Linked DNA regions of Homo sapiens: all the other regions are linked to region 1. Evidence: promoter capture Hi-C in 16 types of primary human blood cells and fetal thymus (Javierre and others, 2016). All regions are on one chromosome and are shown on one strand. The core of a region is centred on a gene start or on the middle of the fragment in contact, and the rest is flanking DNA. Distances in the headings are between cores, read along the strand shown. Region 1 holds the start of SUPT20H (SPT20 homolog, SAGA complex component). Region 2 holds the start of MTMR6 (myotubularin related protein 6). Region 3 holds the start of ATP7B (ATPase copper transporting beta).

Evidence for each region. Contacts are between HindIII fragments. The CHiCAGO score rates a contact against its expected background, and 5 or more counts as called.
Region 2: the fragment with the promoter of MTMR6 here is called in contact with the fragment with the promoter of SUPT20H in region 1 in 1 of 17 cell types (naive CD4 T cells); the score reaches 9.4 in naive CD4 T cells.
Region 3: the fragment with the promoter of ATP7B here is called in contact with the fragment with the promoter of SUPT20H in region 1 in 1 of 17 cell types (total CD8 T cells); the score reaches 5.3 in total CD8 T cells.

The regions. Positions count from the first base shown.
Region 1 is chr13:37,058,324-37,061,023 of GRCh38, reverse strand. It overlaps SUPT20H (SPT20 homolog, SAGA complex component), which reads left to right and starts at 1,336. Exons shown (of 26, transcript NM_001014286.3): 1 at 1,336-1,465. RefSeq lists a silencer at 1,165-1,424. The HindIII fragment of the contact is 8,647 bases long and covers 1-2,700 here.
Region 2 is chr13:25,286,161-25,288,860 of GRCh38, reverse strand. It overlaps MTMR6 (myotubularin related protein 6), which reads left to right and starts at 1,373. Exons shown (of 14, transcript NM_004685.5): 1 at 1,373-1,637. The coding sequence starts at 1,614. RefSeq lists enhancers at 1,060-1,229, 1,330-1,669, 1,373-1,993. The HindIII fragment of the contact is 4,901 bases long and covers 1-2,034 here.
Region 3 is chr13:52,010,130-52,012,862 of GRCh38, reverse strand. It overlaps ATP7B (ATPase copper transporting beta), which reads left to right and starts at 1,413. Exons shown (of 21, transcript NM_000053.4): 1 at 1,413-1,576. The coding sequence starts at 1,526. It overlaps ALG11 (ALG11 alpha-1,2-mannosyltransferase), which reads right to left and starts at 465. Exons shown (of 4, transcript NM_001004127.3): 1 at 401-465. The coding sequence starts at 444. RefSeq lists enhancers at 207-296, 347-476 and silencers at 597-696, 707-816, 867-1,206. The HindIII fragment of the contact is 3,430 bases long and covers 1-2,733 here.

The DNA of each region.
Region 1 (2,700 bases), core at 87-2,586:
GCTGTAGAAACATTTGTTTATGGGTTCCTCAAATATTTTCACGTAGAATTACTATAAGACCCAGAAGTTCCACTATGTTTATACCCAAAAGAATTGAAAACAGGGACTCGAACAAATACTTGTATACAAATGTTCATATCATTGCTATTCACAATAGCCCGAAAGTGGAAACAACCCAAATGTCCATCAGTGGATGGACAGGTAAAACTGTGGCATCTAGGTACAGTGGAATAGTAGCCATAAAGAGACATGAAGTACCGATACATGCAACAAGGTGTACAAGGTGAACCTGCAAAAGATTATGCTACGAAGACAGACCAAAAGGTCACACATTCCATTTATATGAAATATCCGTAATAGGTACCACAGTTTGAAAGCTGATTGGCATTTGCCAGGGGCTGAGAGAGGGAGGAATGGGAGTAACCACTTAATGTGTTCGGATTTTATTTTGGAGTGTACTTTAATACACTTATAATGTGTGCAACCACTAACTCTAATTCCAAGACACTTTCATTCATTATGACCCTTGGCATTGTGAACGGCAAATAATAAATGCTCATTAAAAAGATTCACCCCAGGCCGTGCATGATGGCTCACGCCTGTAATCCCAGCACTTTGGGAGGCCAAGGCGGGTGGATCACTTGAGATGAGGAGTTCAAGAGCAGCCTGCCCAACATAGTGAAACAGTCTCTACTAAAAATACAAAAATTAGCCGGGTGTGGTGGTGCACGCCTATAATCCCAGCTACTCCGGAGACTGAGGCAGGGAGAATCGCTTGAACCCAGGAGGCAAAGGTTGCAGTTAGCTGAGATTTCTCCACTCCACTCCAGCCTGGGCGACAGAGCGAGACTCTGTCTGAAAAACAAACGAACAAACAAAACAAAACAGACCTTACAATGTGTGCTAGTAATGCGGTTTCTGAATTTTTAGAACCCTTCTCTGGGGTGGTTTTTTTAAAAACATAAACTCATTGGCAGTTGATATACTACAGAAGGTTGTACGCATTGGACTAGTAAATGTAGGTAACGGTGTCGCTGTTTTTCCATTTGTATGTGCTAAGCAAAGAGAAAAGCTAGTTCTATGTTTCTTCCACTCTAGAAATTCAACAGGGTCGTTTTTCCCCAAATTCACATCTACACCCTCCCTCCCACTTTGCGGACTCGGACTCCAGGATTGAGCAGAGATCCTGGGCCCCGCCTCCCGCCCGGACGCAAGTCTCTGCGGGCCTCACCGGCGTCCTGCGCGGAACGCAGCGCTCCAGGCTCCTGGCAGCGGCCCCGCCCTCCCGGCTCCTCCCCTTCCGCCCGCCTTCCCCGCCCCTCGGCCCAGCCTGCCAATCGGAAGTGCGGCCGCCGGAACTGGCTGTTGGTGGGGGTGCAGCACTGAGCCGCCGACGGGGCGGGTGGGCTTTGCTGCCGAGCAGGCGGCGCCGTCTTGGGGCCTAGCGGCGAGGCGACCCGCACAGGTGGGCGGTGGCGGTAGGTGGGTGGCCAGCGACTGGCAACGCGGTGGCTTAGACGCGCGAGATCCGGCCAGGGTCAGAGGTGAGCGGGCCGCATCCCAGAGCCCGCTGGAGGAAGACGGGGTCCCCAGAGACCCGGCAGGCCGGGGCGGAGGTTGAGGCAGCTAAACTCCAGGTGGACGCCTACATCGCCTTTCGCGGTGTTGCTAAGCCGAACTTTTAATTTTAGTTTGACTTTTGGGTTCCAGAGACGGGTATTTCCGGACACTGGCAAGAATTTTGCCTTGCGTGTCTTCGAAGGCGGTTTTCTTGGTGTCCATATTGCATAAAGGCTTGTCGCTCCTCTGTGGAGATGACGGTTGTACAGGTAAAGCCTAAGTTGTGACAAAAGCTCCTGCAATGGGAAGACTCTGGTCGATCAGGGAAATCAGTAGAATTGATAGCAACGCGTAGAATTGATAGCAACGCTTAGAATTGGATTAATTACTGGCCATGGTTACCCGGCGCTCAGAAATGAACTTGGAGAACAGTTGCCCTGGAAGCCATCTCCCGTAGCCACTGCGTAGTGGGGGCCGCGTCTTCTTGAGTGCAATTCATCAAAGTCTCTAGTAGGACTCAAAATATAAAGTGACGAGCAGGATTTTCGGAGTCGAGTACAGTGTACTTGGGTTGATCACCATGTTATAAAGTTAGATCCAAATTAAGAAATACATATTCGTCTCTGAGCAGAATTGGGTCCTTTTTTTAATTGCTTTGCTTTTTTTAAAGAAATGTAAAAACAGATGCCGGTTTGATTAGTTTGCAGGTTGTAATATTGGAAGGGACCTAAGATTGGACACAGAGTTCTGAATTCTGATCTAGGTCTGTGATGTTAGGAAAGTCAGTTGTTCTGATTGCCTTATTCTGTAAAACGGAAATGATAATGATTACAGTTTCCTCACAGGTTCTAGTAAATTCTGTGTATAGACAGAATGTTTGCTTTGTGAGAGATATGAAGTTATTAGTTTTTGTCTGAAGTACTTAAATAATTTAAAGTTAGTAAGCCCCCATCCCCAATTTAGTGACAAGAAATCTTAAAGTCATCACATTTTGTCCGAAAAGTACATAGTGTATCTTCATCTTCAAATTCAGTGGTCAGAAAATTTTCACGTTCACCTAAATTCAACTTAAACCTCCTACGAGCTTTTCAAGGGTAGGAGTAATATCTTACTCATTGTAAATGATCGTAAATCATTTAC
Region 2 (2,700 bases), core at 124-2,623, about 12 Mb after region 1:
CAGGATTTGTGGGGTTTTTTTTCGGGGGGAGGGGGTGGATGTGATACTGTACTAAGGTTGGTTTCTAGGTGGTTTAATGTAACTCTTATTACATATTTAGCTTAGAGGAGTCAGCAACTCCACCGCAAAGGCTGTTGTGTTTAATAACCATCTCCATTGCTTTGGCAATCTGTCTGAAACATCGTAGGCACTCAAAACAAAACAAACCAAGACAACTTGAACAAAATGAAACAAATAAGTGAAACAAAATTTTTAATTATAAAAGAAAATTTAGATGTTAGGCTTTTCTAACACCAATCACAGTATGAAAGATGAAGATTACAAACCTTAACCGGCTTAGTACAGAATACTTACAAAACGTAGAGCAGAGTTTCTCGGACTCTAACTCCTGACCTCAAGTGATCCGCCCGCCTCAGCCTCCCAAAGTTCTGGGATTACAGGCGTGAACCACCGCGCCTGGCATAGAGCAGGGTTTCTCAACCTCTGCACTGTTGTCATCTGCCGGATAATTCCCTGTAGTTGGGGGGTTGGTCTGGTGCCTAGTAGGGTGTTCAGCAGCCGACTTGTGACTTGGCCTCCACCCACCAGTTGCCCCCCGCCGCCACCCCCCCACCACCACCATTTGAGACAACCAAAAATATCTCCAGATGTTACCAAATGTCCCCCGGGGAGAAAACTCACTCCAGGCTGAGAAGTACCACATTAGACGTGTTCTAACAAAAATTACCTGTAACCCTCACCTAGAAATGTAAACTTTTTGTTTACATAAATAAAAATTACAGAGCACGGCTACATTGAACTTATTGTTCCATAGTCAGTTTTTTCTTCACTCAGTAATGCAGCATTAACATTTTCGTTATGTGATATCCCTCTACAGGATGAGTTTTAATGGATGCTGGTGCTAACATCGTATGAAATTGAGGTAGGAGGCGGGACTCTGACACCAGACCAGATTGAGGACTAGCTAATCATCATACTTTACATAAGGAATCCGTAGGATTGGAGAGTTGATTGTTTCAAATAAGGCTGGTTTCCTTATTTGGTTATTTCCTTAGAATAATAACTCCAAATCTGATTATTTCCTTAGAATACATTCTTATGAGTAGAACTGCAGCTCAAACTAAATTTGGTGCTGTCCAGTGGTATGGCGATGGACTTCAGAACATCCTCCACTCTTGCCCTCACCCCACAAGAACCCTTTACTCGGGATCCATTCTCACGCAGTCTTCCTCCCCGACCGCCCCGCGCGTCCGCTCGGCGGGATGACAAAGACCGCCTCGGGTGGGGTGGTGAGCAGTACCGGCCTCCTCCAGCAGGGGGCGCTGTGGGATCCGCCGCTGTCCGGGACGAACCAGCAAGCCGCTCTCGGTCCACACACGCTCTGTCTGCCTGCCCCGAGTCCCCCGGGAGGCCGCGGGGTTTGGGGAAGTGTTTCTAGGAGACGGCGCTCACCGGCTGCACCTGCGCCGTTGACGCCACCGGGGCCGGCAGACAGACCCGCGGCGCTGGCTGGTGGAGGGAGTTCCCGCTTGCTCTCTGTCGCTGTCACCGCCCTGTTTCTGTAGCCGTATGGTACGCCTGTGAGACCGGCTGCCGGCTGACGTCTCCTTGCGATGGAGCATATCCGGACGACCAAGGTAGTCGGGCGCGGGATCGCCAGTCTTCAGGGGCCCTGCTCTGACCCGGCTGAGGCAGGAGGAGACGAAGGCTCTGCTGGCCTGACTGGGGCTGGGAGCCGGCCCGGCGGAGACCCGGCCCGGGGCGGGAGGGTCTGGCCAGGCCTGGTCTGGGAGGGCAGGGTTAGCTTGGGCCAAGCGGGGTGCAGAGGCCTCCTGTACCTACAGGAGCAGGGGTCCCACTTTCAGCATCTTGGAGTGCGTAGAGATAAGTCTGGGAAAACTGGTCACCGCCCTCCTAGCTCTACGTTTTCTCGGGCAAAATTGGGGCTCCTTTAACTTTGGAGTCTTTCAGCCTTTCGTTGCCTCATCAACCGGAAAACCGTCTTCAAATTAACATTATGATGCTGTGTAAGCTTGTCCTTGCTCACATTTCATTGTCCCGTGTCACAGATTCACAGTACGAGTTTTGGAGGAACCGAGATCAGCACTCCGCTCCACCTCCCTTTGCTGTCTCGGTCTCCAGTCTTTCGCATCCGGTGTTTCCGTGTCTGTGCTTCATACTTCAGGCATTGTCCTGTGTCAGTAGTCAAGAGTTCTGGAGAAGGGAAAAATGTTATTCCATATTTTAAAAGGTCGGATGCAGCTTTATTCGATTGACCTTATTGCACTCCATGCTTAATTTTTGTGTGTGGAAGACCTTCATTTTGAGAACGAACAAATATTTTTATTTCGTTACAAATTTAAAAACGGAAGGAAATGACATCAGAATGTTACCAAATTACGTTTCCAACGACATTTAAGTTTAACTTTGAGAGGGAGAAAAACATAAATCGAGACGAGAAGAATAACATTTTAAAATCACTGCGAGCCCACTGCAAGGCAGCCTCTTGACGTTTTGGCAAAGCTGAAGCCCTTTAGTTGCTGCCCATCTTAAAATTACGGCTCATTTAGGGAACCACAGATGTTCGTTATCTTCATTGTTCCAAGAAGAATTTGTGTTTTTAAAAATTTTTTAAATGTTTCACAAACCTTTTAAAGGTATACATAAATTTTTATTGGAGCTTGTCTTTAACATTGTGCA
Region 3 (2,733 bases), core at 164-2,663, about 15 Mb before region 1:
AAGGAAGATCCGGTTTCTTCTTTACCGAAAAGAGACATGATAGATTGGAAAATGTCTCGTGGCTCAATCGTAAAGAAAAATAAGGAATGAATATGAATAATTTATGACAGACTAACTGGAGTGTGAAAGGGAAAAAAAAAGCTGAAGCAGGGAAGGGAACTCGACCCCTCGGCCAACAGTGAAGCAGAAGAAAACGCGGTAAATTGAGTCTTTAAGACCTAGTCTATTCCAGTCTATATAGAAGACCCCCAAGAAAAAGAAAGACTGCTCATTGGCCTGAGAAATTACCTTAGATTCATGACAAGGAAGGCCATTTGCCCGCAAAATTTAGCTACACTGGACGGGCAAGTACCCCTACAGAAGAGAAAACGTCTGTGAGCCCACACGACCGGCTGCTCACCTCAACAACTTGCACAGGCACCAGCTCCTTTCGCCGGCCGCCATCTTCCGCCGACCCCCGAACTCAGGAAACGCTTCACTTTCCTTTTCCCTATTGGCTCCTGAGAAAGCAAGCCGTGCTCGCCCCGCCCCCACGGGCCAATTGTGCGTTACTATTGGTTACTGGTAGCCGCTTCCCACGGCCTTCCAGCCAATAGAATATGCCGAGGCGTAGACTAGTGTTCGGCGTGGCGCACACGGCTCCCGCCCCCGTGGGCGGGACAGCAGTGGGGGGTTGGGCTGAGGAGGGCGTGGCCTGTGATTGACAGCCGTCGCTCCCTCCCTCGGCCACCTCCCCCACTAGAAGCCCCCGCCTGGGCGCCTGCGCCCCCGTTCCCGGCCCAAAGCCCGCCGCCCGTTGGAGGCCATTGGCTGGCCTTTGCGCACAGCGGATCGATTTTCCAGGTGCGGAGTTCACTCTTGCCGCGGTTGCTTCCTTTGGGACCCACGGCGTCCGGCAGCCAGGCGCAGAGTCCGAGGAGGGGGCAGCGCAGAGCGGACCCGACGCGGCGCCGCCGGGCACCTTCCCCGCAGGCGGTGGGTGAGCCCTGGGAGCTGAGTCTGCGGCCCGGCTCTGCGCAGCTCACCTGCCCTCCCGCTCCCGCACACGCGTGAGATCCCAGTACAGTGTCGGAGCGCACCAGCGCGAGGTGGCCGAGACCGCGGAGGAGGACAGGCCTCCGCCCTGCGGCGCCGGCACGGCAGAGGACATTGTGGCACTGGCACGGCAGAGAACACTGTGGCACCGGCGGGGCCGGCAGTTCCAGGGTGGGCACTCCCAGCCACCTGGGGAGTGGGCGAGGGTCCGAGGCCCACTCTCCCCTCACGCTCTCATCCCCGTGCCCCCAGGTCGGGAGGACGGCGGCGCGCAACTTTGAATCATCCGTGTGAAGAGGGCTGCGGCTTCCCCGGTCCCAAATGAAGGGGCGGTTCCCGGACCCCTGTTTGCTTTAGAGCCGAGCCGCGCCGATGCCCTCACACTCTGCGCCTCCTCTCCCGGGACTTTAACACCCCGCTCTCCTCCACCGACCAGGTGACCTTTTGCTCTGAGCCAGATCAGAGAAGAATTCGGTGTCCGTGCGGGACGATGCCTGAGCAGGAGAGACAGATCACAGCCAGAGAAGGGGCCAGTCGGAAAGTGAGTTTTGTTCCCCCGCGTCCGCGCAGCGTGCTCACTCCCACCAGGAGGATTTTCCTCCCCGCGTTCGGCGCTTACTCGCCCCCAGGGGGTGCGCAGGGAAGGCCGAGCCAGACCCCAGCTCCAGGGATGTCTTGGCGTGGGAGAAAAGGACCCTTTAGAAAAAGTGTGCCGTCAACTGATGTTTGGGAGCAATGGAAAACCCCGCACCTCAAAATTCATCTTTATGCTTTTAAGGGGTCTGATGCTGGAGAGATAAAGTGAGCGTCGAGTTGCTGTGCTAGAGCCCTAATGGCTCAAAACGATGAAGTTAGTTACCTGGAGAAGTTACTCAGAGCCTGGTGCTTGGACCAGATATGGTATATCGAGGTCCTGGAACTTTTATAACTGTTTTAAATTCATTTTAATTGTACAAGTAATACATTAAGACAGTCTTTTAAAAATGGAAACAGCACAGAAATATTTTGCACAAAAAGCAGATCTATTTTTCAGTCTTTTTCTATTCACGTACATATGTCTTCATTCGGCAAATATTTATTGAGAACTTTCTATGTTTCAGGCACACAGTGTTGAGTTGATACAGTGGTTAACAAGACATGTATCTATATGTAATATGCACACATTCAGAGAAATCTTTAGGTTTCATTTGTATGAGGTGTTAAAATTTTTGTTTTACCTAAATGAGATCACTGTATGTGCATTCTCTTTTTTCAGTTTAACGATATATCTTAGAGATTGTTTCACTAACTGTCTAATTCAGTGCAACCTCTGCACAGTTTGGACGCATCATAGTTTATTCATGGTTTCCTAGTGGTGGACGTTCTGTTTGCTACTTTTTTTCTCTCTCTCTTGCAAGTGAACATCTTTGTACATGATTTTTAATGCTGACACTATTTCTTTAGGATAGATACTTAGGCCTGGATTGCTGGACAGAACAGTAGGCTGTTTCTTTTCCACAGATTTCTGAAACTAATTCACTGACGTTGCTGGGTGCCCTTTAGTAGTGAATTCATCTAGGCTCCGGTGATACAGAAATGAAAACTAACGGATTAGTGGACAGACAGAGAGAGGCTGGTTAGTAGGTGGTTTGTAGGGTATGATGACTATGCATTTGATAGGAGTATGAAGAAATGTTGGGAGGGGTGGCTTGTACAGAG